Linked DNA regions of Homo sapiens: region 2 is linked to region 1. The links are contacts of gene promoters, found by promoter capture Hi-C in blood cells and fetal thymus (Javierre and others, 2016). All regions are on one chromosome and are shown on one strand. The core of a region is centred on a gene start or on the middle of the fragment in contact, and the rest is flanking DNA. Distances in the headings are between cores, read along the strand shown. Region 1 holds the start of CUL2 (cullin 2). Region 2 holds the start of GJD4 (gap junction protein delta 4).

The links. Contacts are between HindIII fragments. The CHiCAGO score rates a contact against its expected background, and 5 or more counts as called.
Region 2: the fragment with the promoter of GJD4 here is called in contact with the fragment with the promoter of CUL2 in region 1 in 1 of 17 cell types (total CD4 T cells); the score reaches 5.3 in total CD4 T cells.

Annotation. Positions count from the first base shown.
Region 1 is chr10:35,088,931-35,091,928 of GRCh38, forward strand. It overlaps CUL2 (cullin 2), which reads right to left and starts at 1,411. Exons shown (of 21, transcript NM_003591.4): 1 at 1,249-1,411. RefSeq lists silencers at 1,182-1,311, 1,332-1,531, 1,585-1,773 and an enhancer at 1,692-1,831. The HindIII fragment of the contact is 6,346 bases long and covers 1-1,747 here.
Region 2 is chr10:35,603,880-35,606,877 of GRCh38, forward strand. GJD4 (gap junction protein delta 4) reads left to right here and starts at 1,462. Exons shown (of 2, transcript NM_153368.3): 1 at 1,462-1,752. The coding sequence starts at 1,689. GJD4-AS1 (GJD4 antisense RNA 1) reads right to left here. Exons shown (of 2, transcript NR_199600.1): 2 at 683-2,086. The HindIII fragment of the contact is 9,701 bases long and covers 1-2,158 here.

The sequences.
Region 1 (2,998 bases), core at 161-2,660:
TTTGGGAGGCCTAAGCAGGCGAATCACCTGAGGTCAGGAGTTCAAGACCAGCCTGGCCAACATGGTGAAACCCCATCTCCACTAAAAATACAAAATTAGCCGGGCATGGTGGCGCATGCCAGTAATCCCAGCTACATGGAAGGCTAAGGCAGAAGAATTGCTTGAACCCGGGAGGCGGAGGTTGCAGTGAGCCGAGATCGCACCACTGCACTCCAGCCTGGGTGACAAGAGCAAAACTCCATCTCAAAACAAAAAAACTGTGTACTTCTCTTATCTCACGCGACTCTTTTGGAAGGATCTTCCAGATACTGTATAAGGGCAAAAGAAGCAAAGTATAGCTCATTTGTTCATGTGTCTGTCTTGAAAAGGAATGTAAGATTCTAAAGGGTAGGCAACAGTGTTTTGAATGTTTTTAAGCGATTATTATGTAGTCAGTTGTCAATCAGATCAAAGTGATTATTTCCGATACTTTACTACGAAGGTAGGCTTGGCCAGGTCTAGTTCAAAGACGTTTATGTTGAACAGTCACAATCTATAGCGAACGTTAATATTTTGCATCTTATCTTCAAAATTTAAACGCCCAGGGTACTGGCCTTCAACTGTTAATATTAATCCATGGGGCAAAGATGTGGACTTAACATTAATAACAGTCTGCAATTCACAGATGTTTTATTTGCATGCACGTAATGGTAGGGAATGGTCCAGACTCTCTAGAGGGTAAGCAAGTGCTAGAAAGCGTGTGAGGATCTTATTTCACCAGACCCTAAGGGTTGAGACAAGAAGTCTAGCATGCACGTAGGATACTCCTCCCCAAAGCTATCAATCTTTGCAGTCTGCGGAAACAAAAGTGAAAACACTCGGGGTAAGGATGCATGAGATGCCCCCCCCCACACACACACACAAACACACAGAGTTGTGTATTCGTGTGAGCACGTAAATATGTAGAAGAATACACGCACTCTCACCTTCCCTCCTTCGAAGGAAAATGGGGCCGCGGGAGAGGCGGCCAAGATCGGGTTGGGGAGGCCCGGGATCCAGTCCAGGGGGTGGCAGGGCTTACGGGTCAGCGCTCTGGGGAGCCGAGGTCACTTACAGGATACCATCTTCCCGGGCCTCCCCCTTTCATCCCTCTCCCCACACCTCGTCGCCCCCAACTCCTCTCCTCCGCCCCAGCCCCGCCACCCATTAACCGGGAAGGGAAGTTTCCCGGCGCCTGCAGCCCGGCTCCCCGACCCTCAGCGGGGTTACCTTCTGCAGAAGCAGGGCAAGGGGCAGGGGACAAGGGGAGGGGGAGGCAGCCCGAAGGAGTGAAAGACGAAGCCCCGGCGAGGAAGGTGGGCGGAGGCGGCGGCGGCGGCGGCTGTCAGCTCGCGTTCCCCTGCTCACAGCGCTGCCATTACTGTGCGCCGAGGCCGCCTCCCCGGCCGGCCGCCGCCACCGGCCCCGGAGACGCGGGGGGTGGGGAGCGAAGCCCGGGGAGCCCGCGCGCCGACACTCACCTGTCTCCGCGAGGAAAGACAGCAAAGTCCAAGGCCGCCGCCGCTCCCCGGCGGGACAGGGGCGGTAGGGAGGGGGGGAAAGGGGAGAAGGACGGGCCGATCACGGGATCCGTAAAACAATCGTCCTCCTCTGCCTCCGGCTTTGCCCAACACACACCCTCCGGTCTCCTTCTTCCGCTGCTGCCAAATCCCCCCCGCCACCCGGAAAGCAATGGTACAGGCCGCGTTACGGCAAGCGCAGGGAGCCAAGCTTCGTGTGATTGCGAAAGGCCACGGAAATTAATATTCCAAGTGATTCCTTGCTGGGCTTGCTGTCAATGAGGCAATTGCGGTTCGCTGAGCTGATGGACACAGTACCCACCCACTACCCGTTAGTTCAGGGACTGCTAATAACAATATGTTGGAATGGTGCTTTCAACAGAAGTATGTTTTCCTTGTTTCAGACCTATGTGAATATCCTAAGACACCACAATCCTCTTGCCACACACTTCCATGGGCTTTGCAAATGATCAAAAATAAATTAGCAAAACTACTTTTCCTCTCTGACAAACTCTTTTTCTTGTTAGTTTTTATCTACAGAGAATTTCTTGGACATACATGTATTTTCGATAAAGAAACTTCACATCTTTTTCACTAATACCCCACCTTCACCAAGCCCCAAGCCTATCAGTTTGAAGGGTTTTCCTCCCTTGGAGTTTTAAACGGTAAAGCTGATAAAAATATAGAATTACTCATCACCTCCTCATATATGCAGGGCCACAGAGGAACAAAAGCCCGGCCTTAGTGCTTTTTGCCTTTCATATCCTCAAGAGCTCACCATCAGGGTCTTGTTCATTTATACGATTCAGCAAGCTTTTCCCTCCCATCCCTTCCTTCCAAACTGCACGAACCCTTCAAGGCCCATTTAAAACCCTGCCTCCAGACCTGATCAGTCCCTAGAGCCTTCCTCCTCTTCTAATCTGCTTCTCTTGGTACTTGAAGTCTCTACTCTTTATTTCAGTAAAGGGTTTTTATATACGAAATTCAATCCAACAGTATGTTTCCATTATGTGACCTTTTTTTCCTCCCATGTTTTCCCCCTTTTAATCTAGTGATTCTCAAAGTGTGGTCCCCAGACCTCTGGAAATCCCTGAGACCTTTACAGAGGTCATAAGGTTAACAACTAGTTTGTTAACAATGCAATATGTCTGGTCCTTTTTTTTTTTGGATACAGAGTCTTGCTCTGTCACCCAGGCTGGAATGCAGTGGCGGCACAATCTCAGCTCACTGCAACCTGCACCTCCCGGGTTCAAGTGATTCTCCTGTCTCAGCTTCCCGAGTAGCTGGTATTACAGAAGCCCGCCACCACACCCGGCTAATTTTTTGTATTTTGTAGAGACAGGGTTTCACCATGTCACCACATTGCCCAGGCTGGTCTTGAACTCCTGAGCTCAGGCAATCCACCCACCTCAGCCTCCCAAAGTGCTAGGATTACAGGCCTGAGCCACCGTGTCAGGCCC
Region 2 (2,998 bases), core at 212-2,711, 520 kb after region 1:
TGGTCACATTTGCATATCACAGTCACTGTGAGTGGGTGAAGAACACATTCTTTTTTTCTGCTTCACTGATGAGAAAACCGAAGCATGAAAAGCTGCAGTGATTTGCTCATGGTCGCGCAGGGCTAATTTATTCCACATTTGGGATGGGCTATTTCTATCACACAGCAAGAGTCAGTAATTGCTTTCCTGATATTTCATTTTTTTTTTAAAGCCAATACCATGAGCAGTCTATTAGGAGACAAATTCTCCTTTATTTTATACTTACACCCTGTGACTATTTCAATATTTTTACTTAACTACAATTTCTCAAATTTCCTTGCTCATGTCGAAGCATTTGACTAAAATATAGCAAAACCACTGTTCCTTTCAAGGGGGTCAAAACGTTTTCCGTGGATGGGAGCATGTCATGTGAGCAAAGATGAAAGTAGCTTTGTTGCACTCTTCTGGGAATCTTTCTAGGGATATTACTAAAGTCAAGAATAGATCAGAAATGAAGAAAAGATGGGGATATAAAGAATAGCTTTCATGGAAAATTGAAATCATTCCTTTTAAAGTTTACAATTTCCACCCTGATCATAGATCCCCAACCCTGCAGGATGGGTTCTTCCCAGATATGAAGGTGGCTGCAGCGATAGGATTTTGACGCAACTGTGATTGATGTCAGCAGGTCCAGACCGTGATATTTCATGACAGATTTAACAGACATTTATTAAGTAGATTCAATGGGAACAGCTCCAGGCTAGATGGGGCTGGGAGATACAAAGGGAAGATGTAATCTGTGAAGGTCGTAGAGGCCAATTAGGGATTGAAATCCCACGGATATGGGTTGTCGTACACCCACTTCACACCAGTTGCTCTTATTCTACACCATCATTTCACATAAGCCTCCCACAAATGGCAAGTGGAATGGCATGATTCTCCTTATTGCAAGATGAGGCTATCTGGAAGGATCCAATGACTTCCCCAGTGAGTAGGGGGCTGCCCCGGGCTTTGCACCCAGGCTTTTGTCTCCAAGCGAAGAGTTGTCACTCACTGCACAGGAAGCAGCAGGAGAATAACCAAGTCACGGTCTAAAGTTGGGACACCCAACTGAGTTTCAGATTTCTGCCTGCACCAATGACACAGGAATTCAGAATAAGGGCGAGATCCTTGTGGGTTCGTGTGATGGTGGCATGGCGATTCATGCTTGATTGAGAAGACAAAACGTGAACACTTTAAGGGCTTCTTGCACAAGTGAAGTGGTTGTGGAAATGTTTTCAAGGAGGAAATGCCTTTTTAATAGAGAAATTTACTTGGCTAGTTAGCAGAAGTTTTCTTTCTTGGGTTAAAAGTAGTTGCTGCTATTATATCCTGAAGCATCTGGCTGTCCTGGTGGGGACATATGAGCGCTGCCACAGGCCGGGAATATCCCAGGCGAGTAAGAATAGCCCACAATAAGAGATGACTGCTGCTTGCTCTGCTGGTCACTGCAGTTGTCAGGAATGTTTCGCCTCAGAGGCAAACGGCTTAGGGCCGTCTCAACTTGGAGACAGAAAAACCCACCTCCTACTCCTGGCTCAGACCTTTGCTTTCTTATCTCCAGCTCACACCTTTAAGTCTTATGTAGTTAAAGGACATTTATCCGCCTCCTTGGAGAACACAGCCCTCCAGTGTCTCCTGCAGCCTGGAGCCTGGGACATTCTGGAAGCATGGAAGGCGTGGACTTGCTAGGGTTTCTCATCATCACATTAAACTGCAACGTGACCATGGTGGGTGAGTATTGGGACCATCTCCAAACTCCTGCGCTGTTTTTATTTCCACTGCCATGGTGGAATTGAGTCCTTAAAGGGTCCAGGTATTTACTCATTTTCAGTGTGCAAGCACCAAGCTGAAAGTCCACCCACTCCCAAAAGAAAGGGCTGTGCCTTTCTGGAGGGAAGAGAGCTGAGGCTTCTAGTTTCTTTGAATGGTTCCGCGGTTCCTCCGTCATGTAAGGGAGTCTTGCGTTTGACATTGTTCTCTCACAGATCATCCTGTGCTGACACTGGGGTGCTGACTCCAAAGACCAAAGCAGGTGGAGGGGTGTTTGTGTGCAACCCTGGTGTGGCTACGTTACCAGGAAAAGGAACAGAACAACAAATGTTAATCAGAAGGTGATACCTTTAGGTTTTATTCTGGAAGCTTGGTTTTTTTTTTTTGTTTTTGGAGACAGAGTCTCACTCTGTTGCCCAGGCTGGAGTGCAGTGATGCAATCTCAGCTCACTGCAACCTCTGCCTCCCGGGTTCAAGTGATTCTCCTGCCTCAGCCTCCCGAGTAGCTGGGACTACAGGCGCCTGCCACCACGCCCAGCTAATTTTCTGTGTTTTTAGTAGAGACGGGGTTTCACCGTGTTAGCCAGGATGGTCTCGATCTCCTGACCTCGTGAGCCACCCGCCTTGGCTTCCCAAAGTGCTGGGATTACAGGCGTGAGTTACCACGCCTGGCCTGGAAGCTTAATTTTTAAGGAGTAGCCATTTCTCTTGTGCACTTTAAACCAAATCCCAAGTTTAGTTATTTTTTTTAACAAAGAAAATAATAGATTTTTGTTTAATGCAGACGACTCACATTTTCAGAGAGGTATGGGGGTCAGAAAAGGATGAATATATGCCGGAGATGCAGTTGATACTTTTCTGGCTCATTATTTTGTAGATTTAGACAAAACCAACTTGATGTTAAAAGTTCAACTCAATGACTCATCACATAATGATATTATTCTTTGTTTGACTGTCTTTACATATTTATTTTTGTTTTGTTTTTATGATGTCAGGCGATGTTTCTCTCATCACAAAACACAATATTCACAAGTTATTTTGGCTGAGTTTTAAACATGTTTCGAAACAGTTGGCCGGTGCCATGAAAATAGGGCTTGACAGTTATTTTGGTTTTCTAGCTTGGTGTCATTCCTTCACGATACATTGAAGAAAGACAAGCCCCATTCATTCCTAATAACTGGAAAAGGGGAAGAGGAATTCTGAATGA